Regions from separate parts of the Homo sapiens genome. Here regions 2 and 3 are each linked to region 1. The links are contacts of gene promoters, found by promoter capture Hi-C in blood cells and fetal thymus (Javierre and others, 2016). All regions are on one chromosome and are shown on one strand. The core of a region is centred on a gene start or on the middle of the fragment in contact, and the rest is flanking DNA. Distances in the headings are between cores, read along the strand shown. Region 1 holds the start of BEST1 (bestrophin 1). Region 2 overlaps FEN1 (flap structure-specific endonuclease 1). Region 3 has its middle 4.3 kb from the start of LINC02733.

The links. Contacts are between HindIII fragments. The CHiCAGO score rates a contact against its expected background, and 5 or more counts as called.
Region 2: a fragment that was not itself captured here is called in contact with the fragment with the promoter of BEST1 in region 1 in 17 of 17 cell types (neutrophils, total B cells, naive CD4 T cells and 14 more); the score reaches 23.7 in neutrophils.
Region 3: a fragment that was not itself captured here is called in contact with the fragment with the promoter of BEST1 in region 1 in 15 of 17 cell types (neutrophils, erythroblasts, megakaryocytes and 12 more); the score reaches 32.9 in neutrophils.

Annotation. Positions count from the first base shown.
Region 1 is chr11:61,946,875-61,951,697 of GRCh38, forward strand. BEST1 (bestrophin 1) reads left to right here and starts at 3,477. Exons shown (of 11, transcript NM_004183.4): 1 at 3,477-3,553. The HindIII fragment of the contact is 17,311 bases long and covers 1-4,823 here.
Region 2 is chr11:61,794,170-61,798,992 of GRCh38, forward strand. FEN1 (flap structure-specific endonuclease 1) reads left to right here. Exons shown (of 2, transcript NM_004111.6): 2 at 1,172-3,069. The coding sequence starts at 1,193. The coding sequence ends at 2,335. Among named protein-coding and RNA genes, the nearest start is that of FEN1, 3.7 kb to the left of the region's middle. RefSeq lists an enhancer at 1,177-1,677. The HindIII fragment of the contact is 2,888 bases long and covers 657-3,544 here.
Region 3 is chr11:62,084,169-62,088,991 of GRCh38, forward strand. No RefSeq gene overlaps it. Among named protein-coding and RNA genes, the nearest start is that of LINC02733, 4.3 kb to the left of the region's middle. The HindIII fragment of the contact is 4,419 bases long and covers 1-4,081 here.

The DNA.
Region 1 (4,823 bases), core at 2,227-4,726:
CAGGATCCAAAATCAAAAGACCTAGATCCTAGTCTCAAGCCATTTATAGCTGTGTGACCTTGGACAAGGCAGGCCTTGAGCTTCAGTGTCCTCCTTTGTAAAATGTGGATAAACATGCGATACTGAATCATCCTTCAGGAATAGCTCTATGACTTTCCGTAGGTTGTTCCCCTGATGTGTAATGCTCTTCCATTCTTCTCAGCTCCATGAACTCCTACTCATGCTTCAAGACCCAACCGAAATGCCCCATTGTCTGTAAAAATTTCCCTGACCTCTGTGCACTTGGCACAGATCTTAGGCCTTGCCATTCTGTGTTAGAGTTGTTATTTAAGTGTTTCCAAATTTTTTGACTATGAATACGTACAGGCAGGAATCAGATTAGGCTCAGTTCTGGAAGGAGAAATGGTTTGGCGAATATTTTCTTTGCGGAACGGAAAGCAGAAGAGGGCGACCTTGACTGGGTTGGGTGCCATCTCTGCAGGGGTCAATCCTGGGACTCTTGTTCCAGGCATGGCTTGGGTCAATCAGCACTCATGACTTTGCTGTGTGCCTGAGCCGTGCCTGGCTAACTGGGGACATTTTCATAGCTGAGACCCAGTAGGAGAGACCATGACTTGTGCCAGGGTGTGCCTGTCTCAGCTCTGGGGCAGGGCCAGGAGCAGCTGCTCATGGGATGTCTCTGGGGACATGCTGGGGCCTCTGGGAGGGGAAGGGAGACTGGCCATGCACTGTCTATGGTCCTGGTGGTACTCCTGGGATATTGCCAAGGAGCCTGCGGTTCAGGGAACAGGGAGGAGGGACTCTAGTGTCTCCAACTCCCTCTCATGGCTCTATGGCTGCTGGTCGGGGTCAGGGAGATGAAGCAGTGCCAGCTCCGTGGTCTGCACTGATCCTGACCAGTGAACCAGGCTTCCCCAGCCAGAGCCAGCTAGTCAAGCACGCTCTCTAGTGGCCACCACAGGGAAGGCAAGAACTTGTCTCCACAAAGGCAGGATTTTCATTTATTCCTTCAGAGAGTACAGAATGAGCATCAATGTTCCAGGCATGGTGCCAGGCATGTGTGTTAACTTTAGTTAAAACATACTTATTGGCCGAGTGTGGCGGCTCACTCCTGTAATCCCACCACTTTGGGAGGCCTAGGTGGGAGGACTGCTTGAACTTAGAGCTCAATACCAGCCTGGGTAATGTAGTGAGACCCTATCTCTATAAAAAAAAAAAAAATAGCTGGGTGTGGTGGTGTGCGTCTGTAGTCCCAGCGACTTGGGAGGCTGAGATGGGAGGATTGCTTGAGCCTGGGAAGTGGAGGTTGCAATGAGCCAAAATCACACCCATTGCACTCCAGCCTGGGTGACCTTGTCTCAAAAATATAGTTATATATTTACTTATATATTTATATGTATAAATATATGTGTACATACAAATATATTTGTAATATTATAGACATATTAATACATATTTACATATGTTAATATATAAATATATATAATATATATTTATCATCTTCTAAATGGAAAGCTCTTGAGTTTCAGGATGTGTTGGTTGGGAAGGGAATACAGGATAGGGAAATAATCCATTAAGCAATGACTCAGCACAGGCCATAAAATCAGAATCACCTGGAGAACTTGAACAATCCCAACACCTGGGGTCCATCCAGACCAATCAAATCAGAATTCGTAGGGGTCAGGCACAGGCACCAGTGGTTTGGAGAGTTGACGGACACATGTCCCATCCATCATTCTCATTCGGCTGCCAAGGTAGGCATCGTTGTCCCATTTTGCATATGAGGAGACTGAGGCTGAAGTGAACCTGCTTCTTTCCCCATATCAGTTGAGGACAGCGATGGGGCAGCGGGGAGGCAGTAAATACTCCTACAAGGCTGCCTCTAAAGAGAGTCTTATAATAACAACAGCTTTATTGTTTGCCATGATTAGAAAAGTATTCAAGGTCATTGCGAAATAGTGTTTTTTTTTCTAGGCAGATAATTATATAAAGGCAAAAATGGTGTGTGGGGGTGGGGGACAAGGGGAGGGAGAGCATTAGGACAAATACCTAATGCACGCAAGGCTTAAAACCTAGATGATGGGTTGACAGGTGCAGCAAACCACCATGGCACACGTATACCTATGTAACAAACCTGCACATCATGTATACCTATGTAACAAACCTGTACATTCTGCACACGTATCCCAGAACTTAAAGTGAAAAAAAAAGTGGTGTGTAGAAAAATCACCTGCAATCTCAGCATAGTTAACGCTTAGTACATTTCAGAGAGAGAGGGTGACAGGAAAGGGAGGATGAGAGTGGGTTTAAGACACAAGGTCATATTATAAAATCAGGGCTTCTGGAAGTTTAGTCCCAAAACCACACATCTCATAATCCCCTGCAGTGCTTGATTAAAATGCAACATCCCTAAGGCCACAGACTCAGACTCTGGAGAAAGATCCAGAAAACTGCCCGTTTAATAAACATTTGGGCGATTCTTACGGCCTCTAAAGACCAAGAACCACTGCTGCCTAGAGCTCTGCTCTCTTCATTGAACAATACAAGAGGAGTGTGTAGGTAGACACCCACCACTTCCAACAGCTTAGGAGAGCCCTTGAGTATGGATTGATGTATTAAAATTTATTGAATCACATGCTGAGATTTTCACCAGCTGCCCGTGGGGATCTGGGCATTTATTCCCATATTGCACTGGCTGGCTGGAAGCCAGCAGCATAAACTCCAGGGCTGTTCTGTCAACCCCCACCAGACTCACCCCCCTCCACCAGCCCCGGCAGGCTTCTCCTTCCATCTCTCTGAAGCAACTTACTGATGGGCCCTGCCAGCCAATCACAGCCAGAATAACGTATGATGTCACCAGCAGCCAATCAGAGCTCCTCGTCAGCATATGCAGAATTCTGTCATTTTACTAGGGTGATGAAATTCCCAAGCAACACCATCCTTTTCAGATAAGGGCACTGAGGCTGAGAGAGGAGCTGAAACCTACCCGGGGTCACCACACACAGGTGGCAAGGCTGGGACCAGAAACCAGGACTGTTGACTGCAGCCCGGTATTCATTCTTTCCATAGCCCACAGGGCTGTCAAAGACCCCAGGGCCTAGTCAGAGGCTCCTCCTTCCTGGAGAGTTCCTGGCACAGAAGTTGAAGCTCAGCACAGCCCCCTAACCCCCAACTCTCTCTGCAAGGCCTCAGGGGTCAGAACACTGGTGGAGCAGATCCTTTAGCCTCTGGATTTTAGGGCCATGGTAGAGGGGGTGTTGCCCTAAATTCCAGCCCTGGTCTCAGCCCAACACCCTCCAAGAAGAAATTAGAGGGGCCATGGCCAGGCTGTGCTAGCCGTTGCTTCTGAGCAGATTACAAGAAGGGACTAAGACAAGGACTCCTTTGTGGAGGTCCTGGCTTAGGGAGTCAAGTGACGGCGGCTCAGCACTCACGTGGGCAGTGCCAGCCTCTAAGAGTGGGCAGGGGCACTGGCCACAGAGTCCCAGGGAGTCCCACCAGCCTAGTCGCCAGACCTTCTGTGGGATCATCGGACCCACCTGGAACCCCACCTGTGAGTACAAGGTGCCCCAGGTGGACTGGGCTGGGGCTTTGAGGCCTTCAGGGTTGGATGGCCATCTTGCGTATTTGTGTGGGATATGCACACACAGGCAGCACATGCGCAGGTGTGTGGGCACCTGTGTGTCTGTGCAAATGCCCTGAGGTGGGAATGAGCTTGGTGTGCATCAGGCACAGCCAGCCAGTGTGGCTGCAGCAAAACACACAGGGAAAGAATGGAGGGGGCATCAATCACTGCTTCAGTAAATTTTTATTGAGCGCCTTCTACGAGAACACAAGAGGAGCTTCCATTCTGAGGAGGAAACAGGCAGGAAACAGGCAGATATCCTGTATAATTTCAAGTAGTGATAAGTGCTCTCTAGAAATATCAAGCAAGGTGAGGAGACACAGAGCACCGGTGGCAGTGGGGCTCTATTTCCAGGTTGGATGGTTGGGAACATCCTTTCTAAAGGGAACCTGGAGTGGGAAGGAACCATGCAGGTATCTCAGGAAGAGCTTCCTCCAGGCAGGAAGATCAGCAGGTGGAAAGGCCCTGGAGCCACCATTCAGTAAACATCATTTGAGCATCTCTACCAGCTAGGTTCCATTATGGGAATGGGAATATGGTGGTGGACAGGGCTGCCTGGTCCCTTCCATACTTCTCACACTAGGGTGGTTGAGAGAGCTTGGGAGCTAACGAACAAGATGGGCTGAGAACACTGCCTAGCCCAGAGGACCTGAGCTTAGTGTGTAGACATTGCTGCTGTTACTGCCTTTGTCATTGTATTATTTATTTATTTATTTATTTATTTTTAGACAGAGTTTTGCTCTTCTTACCCAGGCTGGAGTGCAATGGCGTGATCTCAGCTCACTGCAACCTCCACCTCCTGGGTTCAAGCGATTCTCCTGCCTCAGCCTCCTGAGTAGCTGGGATTACAGGCACCCGCACCACGCCTGGATAATTTTTTTGTATTTTTAGTAGAGACAGGGTTTCACCATGTTGGCCAGGCTGGTCTCGAACTCCTGACCTTAGGTGATCCACCTGCCTCGACTTCCCAAAGTGCTGGGATTATAGGCATGAGCCACTGCGCCCAGTGATTATAGAAAGTTAAAGGCACATGGCAATGCACACGCCTATCTACGTCTTCCCTGCCAAAGCAAAGGGCAGCCTCTGGGCTCACTTTCTTGCGTTTCTACTTCCAAAAGGCAGTCAGAACTGGCAGGGCCTTGGAGACCACTTCATCCACCTCCTAGGGTCCCTATGGGAGAGTTGAGGTCCAGAGCAG
Region 2 (4,823 bases), core at 851-3,350, 150 kb before region 1:
GCACAAGATGAGTTTTTTATTTTTTTGAGACGGAGTCTCACTCTCTTGCTAGGCTGGAGTGCAGCGGCACAATCTCGGCTCACTGCATTCTCTGCCTCCTGGGTTCAAGCGATTCTCCTGCCTCAGCCTCCCGAGTAGCTGGGATTACAGGTGCACACCACCACACCCAGCTAATTTTTTTTTTTTTTGTATTTTTAGTAGAGACAGGGTTTCACCGTGTTGGCCAGGATGGCAAGATGATTTTAAATTGCACCCCCTAAAAATCCTTTTTAATAGTTATACATTTAATACATATTAAAATATAACTAATAGAACACAAATATTATTGCTTATGAGTTTTCCAGTTTAGTTTTTTAAAAAAAATTCTAAGTGAATGAAAGTACGGGTTTTAGTTGGAAGTAGCAAAAATCGTGAGGGTGATTTGGGAAACACTGCTATCTGGGAAACACTGAACTCTGAAGTGCAATACTCTTTTGAGCCCAGTGACTACAGCATGCCAGACCCCTAAATCAGGACCTGGGGAGGAGCCATGGAGTTAACATTTCAGACTGAGTGGTGGCGAGAAAACGCAAAGGGAAAGACTTGAAACTCTAGCAACATTATAATAAAAGTAGAAACTCTTATGTGCTGAGGCGATGATGAAGAGAGTTTAGAGAAGCTTGTGAGAAAGCCACATCACCTCCATTCAGATATGTTTGCAATCCTTTTTCAAGGCTGCCTTATTAGTCAGGGTTCTCCAGAGACTCAAAACAAATCAGATCTGTTTGTTTAGCTGGTGTATTTGCCTGTCTTTCAGGTCTGCCATTATGGTCCCTGGACTCCTCAAGCCAGGCCAAGCATCCTGGCCTTCTGTGGTCCTTGATGGAGACCTATGTTGCAGGTTTTTTTTGTGTAATAAATAATGCTGCTACCTTAGAATATCAACAGTATCTTATTTCTCTAAGCACGTGGTTCAATTTCTGGTACTCGTTGAGCCTTACTATTGAGTAAATTCTCCTGCTAGACTGAGTTTTTTGAGAATGGGGACCTTGTTCATCTTTTTATCTTTAGCAGTGCTGACATGGTGTCCTTTTTGTTGTGTGGAATTTAGTTGAAGGCATGAAGTTGGTGAGATAACACCAGTTATAACCTTTCTCCTTTCCTCCGTCTCTGACTTGCCTTTCTTTTTTAGTCATCCCTCCTCTGTGTTGCCATGGGAATTCAAGGCCTGGCCAAACTAATTGCTGATGTGGCCCCCAGTGCCATCCGGGAGAATGACATCAAGAGCTACTTTGGCCGTAAGGTGGCCATTGATGCCTCTATGAGCATTTATCAGTTCCTGATTGCTGTTCGCCAGGGTGGGGATGTGCTGCAGAATGAGGAGGGTGAGACCACCAGCCACCTGATGGGCATGTTCTACCGCACCATTCGCATGATGGAGAACGGCATCAAGCCCGTGTATGTCTTTGATGGCAAGCCGCCACAGCTCAAGTCAGGCGAGCTGGCCAAACGCAGTGAGCGGCGGGCTGAGGCAGAGAAGCAGCTGCAGCAGGCTCAGGCTGCTGGGGCCGAGCAGGAGGTGGAAAAATTCACTAAGCGGCTGGTGAAGGTCACTAAGCAGCACAATGATGAGTGCAAACATCTGCTGAGCCTCATGGGCATCCCTTATCTTGATGCACCCAGTGAGGCAGAGGCCAGCTGTGCTGCCCTGGTGAAGGCTGGCAAAGTCTATGCTGCGGCTACCGAGGACATGGACTGCCTCACCTTCGGCAGCCCTGTGCTAATGCGACACCTGACTGCCAGTGAAGCCAAAAAGCTGCCAATCCAGGAATTCCACCTGAGCCGGATTCTGCAGGAGCTGGGCCTGAACCAGGAACAGTTTGTGGATCTGTGCATCCTGCTAGGCAGTGACTACTGTGAGAGTATCCGGGGTATTGGGCCCAAGCGGGCTGTGGACCTCATCCAGAAGCACAAGAGCATCGAGGAGATCGTGCGGCGACTTGACCCCAACAAGTACCCTGTGCCAGAAAATTGGCTCCACAAGGAGGCTCACCAGCTCTTCTTGGAACCTGAGGTGCTGGACCCAGAGTCTGTGGAGCTGAAGTGGAGCGAGCCAAATGAAGAAGAGCTGATCAAGTTCATGTGTGGTGAAAAGCAGTTCTCTGAGGAGCGAATCCGCAGTGGGGTCAAGAGGCTGAGTAAGAGCCGCCAAGGCAGCACCCAGGGCCGCCTGGATGATTTCTTCAAGGTGACCGGCTCACTCTCTTCAGCTAAGCGCAAGGAGCCAGAACCCAAGGGATCCACTAAGAAGAAGGCAAAGACTGGGGCAGCAGGGAAGTTTAAAAGGGGAAAATAAATGTGTTTCCCCATTATACCTCCTTCACCCCAGAATATTTGCCGTCTTGTACCCTTAAGAGCTACAGCTAGAGAAACCTTCACGGGGTGGAGAGAGGATTCTAAGGCTTTTCTAGCGTGACCCTTTTCAGTAGTGCTAGTCCCTTTTTTACTTGATCTTAATGGCAAGAAGGCCACAGAGGTACTTTTCCTTTTTTAGCTCAGGAAAATATGTCAGGCTCAAACCACTTCTCAGGCAGTTTAATGGACACTAAGTCCATTGTTACATGAAAGTGATAGATAGCAACAAGTTTTGGAGAAGAGAGAGGGAGATAAAAGGGGGAGACAAAAGATGTACAGAAATGATTTCCTGGCTGGCCAACTGGTGGCCAGTGGGAGGTGATGGTGGACCTAGACTGTGCTTTTCTGTCTTGTTCAGCCTTGACCCACCTTGAGAGAGAGCCACCAGGAAGGCGCATCTTAGCAGATGGGAGGAACTGCTGAGAGAAGATGGGCAGAAAGCTGGAGCCCCTGGAGTTGGCTGTGTCTGTGTTTGTGACTGATTACTGGCTGTGTCTTGGGTGGGCAGAAACTCGAACTTGCTATGTAATTTGTGTCTAGTTATTCAGAGGAGTAAGATGGTGATGTTCACCTGGCAATCAGCTGAGTTGAGACTTTGGAATAAGACACTGGTTTTCATGCGCTGTTTTTGTTTTAAAGTTATGAAGAAAAAAGTCAATAAAATTCTAAAAGTAACCAAAATGTCATGTTCTTTGAGAACATTTGAAAATATCCCAAGTGACCATGGCTCCAAATAGCTTTCCTTTTCACTCTTAACATGCTGTAATTGCACTTGATTAACAATGGGTGGTTTGAGAGTGGCCACAAGATGGCACCATGCTCCATAAAATGGCCATAGCAGCTAGATGGAACTTCAGCCATTAGGAGGAGGATGTTTTGTTTATTTTATTTTGCTGGGAGAGGAGTTTTAATACGTTGAATAGATTTCTAGTCTCTCACTCCATGAGATCAAAGGAGTGCCTTTAAGAAAGCCTCACAATTTAGATCAACTACCTCATAACATCCAAGCATTTACTTTGCCACTACTTGTAAACTGAAAGCTGCCATTCAGAAACCATTTTCTTGTTCCTTTTGTAACATCAAATCCAAGATACTGTTTCCCATAGAGATGGCATGTTTTTGAGCTTTGAAAGTTTTATAATCCTGATAAAGCTTGGCCCATTTGAATGTCTGACGTTTTAGCATTCCTGTCAGGGCCATTTGAAGTTAACAGGGACACTTATGTAACTGTCCGAAATTTAAGCTGGCAATGTCTTGACAGATTAAACAGGTAGGGAGCCTGAAGACCAGTAGTTTTCAAGTCTTTTAATGGAGAAACCTATTCTTCAAGTGTAATCTTATGTGAAACTTTAGGATGTACAGGTTCCTCTGGTTGAAGCTGGAATGGGATAAAGTTTACCCAGCAACGGCCTCATAACTAGGGTACTTTTTGAAAACTGGTGTTGACAAAAAGTTCTATCCCAAGGGCAGGTAACTTTTGAAACTGATTTTCCCAGATTATACCAAGCCACACAACTTATTTGAGCTCTATTTTCTGATTCAGGTAGATTGCTTCTAAATCTGCAGTAATGGTGATAGGAACTAAAGACGGTAAGATTTCTTTTTTTTTTTTTTTTTTGAGACAGAGTCTCTTGCTCTGTCACCCAGGCTGGAGTTCAGTAGTGCGATCTTGGCTCACTGCAGCCTCAGCCTCCTGGGCTCAAGTGATTCTCCCACCTCAGCCTCCCAAGCAGCTGGGATTACAGGCACAGGCCACCATGCCTGGATGATTTTTCAATTTTTTGTAAAGATGGGATCTCACTGTTGCCCAGGCTGGTCTTAAACTCCTGGGCTCAAGCAATCCTCCCGCCTTGGCCTCCTAAAGGCTAGGATTACGTGTGCCATTCTCTCCCAGTGCTGGGATTACAGGATGAGCCACCTTGCCTGGCGAAATGTTAAGATTTCTTAGGAGTTATTGCCTCAGTGCAGTAGCTCTTAATAATTAAGGGCTTATACCCTGTGGTGGTCAAGAATGTAGTGGTTTTCTTTTGTCTTTTGAAGGTAAGTTTGTCTCCTATAGAATTTTGTTAATCTGACTTTCTGTGTGCACACTGCAGGGAAGATTAATGATGCCTACAAATGTTTTTGCTCAGAGCTGTTCTAGTTGGATGGTTAAGAGGCACTGCTCTGCAGTCAAGCTCTGAGGGATCACACTTGCAGAGGAAGATTTAGGCAGATAGGACTTAGGGAGACTATTTGGAAACTAGAAATGAGTTTAAAAGTAAAGAGAGGCCAGGCGCAGTGGCTCACGCCTGTAATCCCAGCACTTTGGGAGGCCAAGGCGGGTGGATCACCTGAGGCCAGGAGTTCAAGACCAGCCTGGCCACCATGGTGAAACCCTGTCTCTACTAAAAATAAAAAATTAGCTGGGCGCGGTGGTGTATGCTTAT
Region 3 (4,823 bases), core at 622-3,121, 140 kb after region 1:
CAACATGGTGAAACCCCGTCTCTACTAAAAATACAAAAATTAGCCAGGCGTGGTGGCAGGCGCCTGTAATCCCAGTTACTTGGGAGGCTGAGGCACGAGAATTGCTTGAACTTGGGAGGCAGAGGTTGCAGTGAGTAGAGATTGCACTGTTGCACTCCAGCCTGGGCAACAAAGCGAGACTCTGTCTAAAATAAATAAATAAATAAATAAATAAAATAAAGTGATTAAACTATTTATGGTCCTCAAGTAGGAGAATTTCAATTGCTTCACACTTTTGAAAATACATGTTGTGATATTTATATAAAACCAAGAACCATGGATGAAAAAACATATATGTGTGTCTCATATATGTATGCATTTCATATACATATGTGTTATAAACATATATATGTCTTTCATATATATATATATAAAATGTTTTCACCCATGATTCTTGGCTTATAACTCCCATAGCTCTTGTTATTACAGTTTCTGTTATAATGTTAGGGCACTTTAGTTCTCACAAGCAGGCTTCAGGAAACAGAATCTCTCTCTCTCTCTCTGACCTTCTCCTGCCCACCTTTTACCTGCTCCTTTTTTCTCCCCACCTTTTACCTGCTTCTTTTCCTATCTTTCTGTCTAGGAGCTGGTCATGAGGAAATTCTCTGGCCTACTTTGATTGTAGGTCACAATACCCTCATTTCAGACAGGTCCTGCCCTATTCCCTGGAAGGAATGCTGCACAGAGAGACCAAGAAGAATCTGATCAGATGGGCCTTGTTGGGTTTCCCCATTCAGCCTGTTAGTGTTAGATCGTACCCAATCATATTTATTTTATTTATTTATTTATTTATTTATTTATTTATTTATTTATTTTTTGAGATGGAGTCTCACTCTGTCACCTAGGCTGGAGTGCAGTGACGTGATCTCGGCTCACTGCAACCTCCGCCTCCCGGGTTCAAGCAATTCTCCTGCCTCAGCCTCCCAGGTAGCTGGGATTACAGGCTCCCACTACCATGCCTGGCTAATTTTTGTATTTTTAGTAGAGACGGGGTTTCACCATATTGGCCAGGCTGATCTCGAACTCCTGACCTCGTGATCCGCCCGCCTTGGCCTCGCAAAGTGTTGGGATTACAGGCGTGAGCCATCATGCCTGGCAATAAATTATTTCTTCAAATATTGTGGGGATACAACTGCAGAGATCTCAGATTTCAACGTGTTTTTGTCCAATGCTTATACCATTCAGGTTATAACCATTTCAGAAAAGGTCTGTATAATTCTGGCAATTCATGTATGGCCTTGTAGTGTTAGGTTTTTAGGTGTATATGTGGGATATGTGTGGTTTAGGAAAAAAGCCTTGCAACTTTACAAAGCACTGGACATACACTAGCTAGCCTTCTCTTCACTCCTGTCATTACTGATCTGTTTTCCCCATTTTAGTAAATGGTCAAGATTTACCCCTAGAGAAAGAGTCAGCTTGTGGCCAAATTCATGTTTGATAGATCTTCTCAGCTCTAAAACTGAAAGGGAGAAACTTCAGACAGCAGAAAGAGAAAACAAACAAGCAGGGTGGGTGAAATAATTTCCTATGGTTGTTGAAACAAATTACCACAAATTTCGTGGTTTAAAACAACACAAGGCTGGGCTCAGTGGTGCATGCCTGTAATCCCAGCACTTTGGGGGGCCGAGGTGAGAAAATTGCTTGAGCTCAGGAGTTTGAGACCAGCCTGGCAACACAGTGAGACCTTGTCTCTAAAAAATAAAGAAAGAAAGAAGAAAAAGAAAAAAATTCCAAAAACCAAAACCACCCCACACATTTATTATCTTATAGTTCTGGGGTCAGAGGTCCAAAATGGGTCTTTATGAGCTAAAAACCAAGGTGTTATCAGGCCTGCATCCCTTCTTTTTATTTTATTTAATTCTTTTTTTTTTTTTTGGTAGGGATGCAGTCTCACTCTAATGCCCAGGCTGGTCTTGAATTCCTGGGCTCAAGCAATTCACCCATCTCGGCCTCCCAAAGTGCTGGGATTGTAGGCATGAGGAACTGTGCCTGGCCTTACTTTTGGGTTTTTGAGGAAAAGTGTGGTTTAGACACTTGGAAATGTCTTTGTCGAAAAAAAATGTTTTTTAAGTGTACAGTAAAAGCATCACATGGTCTAACCTCATAATAATTCTCCCTTTTTGGAGACCCAAGATTCAACGTGGGCTTTCCCAGAGCTCAGAGATCCAGTTAAAAGATAAGTAGGCCCTATCTAAATAAAATTGATCCCCTTATACAATCCTATGATAGATTTCTATAATTTTATGTTCAATTTGGCATCCATCTTTAATCTTCCTCTAGCACCACCAGACTTTTACTCTCTGTACCTTATGATGTAAATTTTTCTATTTGATTTTCAGCTGAGTTCTTTCCTTTAATATGCACATTTAAGGCTATTTAACTGACAACTGCCTAGTGTTGTGAAACAGGTTATCAAGTATCTGAAAGTCTAAGATAGGAAAAAAAAAAAAAGGTGTGTTTATTAAGTCTATAAGATGTAATTCTTTTTTTTTTTTTTTTTTTTTTTTTTGAGATGGAGTCTCGCACTGTCCACTGGCCTGGAGTGCAGTGGCGCAATCATGGCTTACTACAACCTCCGCTCCCAGCTTCAAACGATTCTCCTGCCTCAGCCTCCCAAGTAGCTGGGATTACAGGTGCCCGCCACCACACCCAGATAATTTTTTTTATTTTTAGTAGAGACAGGGTTCCACTATGTTGGCCAGACTGGTCTCAAACTCCTGACCTCGTGATCTGCCCACCTCAGCCTCCCAAAGTGCTGGGATTACAAGCATGAGCCACTGCGCCTGGCCTTTTTTTTTTTTTTTTTTTTTTGAGACAGAGTCTCTCTCTGTTGCCCAGGCTGGAATGCAGTGGCACGATCTTGGCTCACTGCAACCTCCATCCCCCAGGTTCAAACAGTTCTCCTGCCTCAGCCTCCTGAGTAGCTGGGATTACAAGAGCCCACAACCATGCCCGGCTAATTTTTTGTATTTTTAGTAGAGGTGGGGTTTCACCATGTTGGTCAGGCTGGTCTCAAGCTCCTGATCTCAGGTGATCCACCCATGTTAGCCTCCCAAAGTGCTGGGATTATAGGCGTGAGCCACTGCACCCAACCTATAAGATGTATTTCTATTGGCATTCCTAATACATCTATGTATTTATGTGTTGTATACACAATGTTTCACTACCAAAAATATATAAAAGAGGTCTAATTAATTGGCTTAAAGAAAAATAAAAGCATTGAAATAAAATACTTTATCAGAAAAAGGAAAAACTAGTCAAATTATTTTTCAAGTTTACATGACTTAAGTAAAATCTTTAATAAGTAAGCTAGCTTTAAAATTATTGGTAAAATAATATTAGAAATGTCTTAAGAATTTCCAGCATACATTTTATTTGCATTTATTAATCTAGCAATTTCATACTTATCCTAGCCAAATACTATAAGGTGTCAAAATTTGGCACAGGGGTTACAAAACCATAAACCCAGCCCAAAACAGAATGATTCTTGCTTGCCGATCTTTAATAAACAAGACATTGATATTGTTTAACAAAAATAGCTACATCTGGAATTACTTAGTAAAATTACCATAACTTCTAATCTTGTGGCTTTAGGCAGTCTAGTCTACAGGCAGTAAGGAGGTTTGTTTTGGGAAAGGACTGCTATTGTCTTTGTTTCAATGCTAAACTATAAATTAAGTTCCTCCCAAAATTCAGGAATGAACAAGGACAGCTTGGAGGTTAGAAGCAAGATGGAGTCAGTTAGGTCATATCTTTTTCATTGTCTCAGTTAGAATTTTGCAGTGGCAAGTTTCATAGCTTTAAATGATGACTATCACAGTTTTCATAAATAATCTAGGTAAACAAAATAAAATAACTAGGTAAATGTAATGAGATAAATACTTGTAGACAAACTGGTCATAATTTAGAATCTAGAGTTAAATTAAATAGTAGATATTTCATTATTTGGGTATTTTCAAATAAAAATATATATTGTATGAAAAAATTGTTTCTTAAGAAAAGTGTCCTTTTTAAAAAGGTGAACAAATTTTGTCAAATTCAAAGCTTATTTAAAGGTTATGTATAAAACAAGGTAAAAGGAACCAGGAAATAAGAGAGATATAAAGAAAGTTATAGAAATAAAGAGGGTTTTTTTGGGGGGGTAAGAAAGCTTAAAGAGAAATAATTTTATATAAGAAAGAATCTTGTATGGTAAATTTAGACCTAGAATAAAATGACTAGTTGTTTAAGAAAGAGGAATGTTTGGGACAAACCAGAAAGTCCAAGCATGTCATGAATGGTCTGTGTAAGTCACAATAAAAGGATTTATTTTTAAAAAAACTTTTACATGATCAACTTGTCTATAATTAAAGGGAAATTATACTGGTTTTTCTAGAGATTGGGTTTGATGTAAGAAAAACATGTGTACACTAAAGAATTGATTAGAACAACAAAGTTTCCTTACAGGATTTATTTACTCATAATAAATAATAAGATATTTTAATTTTTTTAACCCCAATTTCAACTTTTATTGCATCTTGCCATTTTCGGTTTTCTCTCCCCTTTTAAAAGACATGAAATAATAATGTTCTCCTTCAACTCATTTTCAGCTCATAGAAGTTTTTTTTTTCCCTCAAATTCTGTTTGTTGTGGCCTGATGCTAATAATATTTTCTTAAAGATTGAAAGGAAATGTTTTCTTCCAATATAATATTCTGTACACTGCAGAAGGTCTTTTCTTTTGCCTTTTGGTAACTAGTCTAACAGATTTTACATTTTATCAAAATTATTCCTGTGGCATTATTA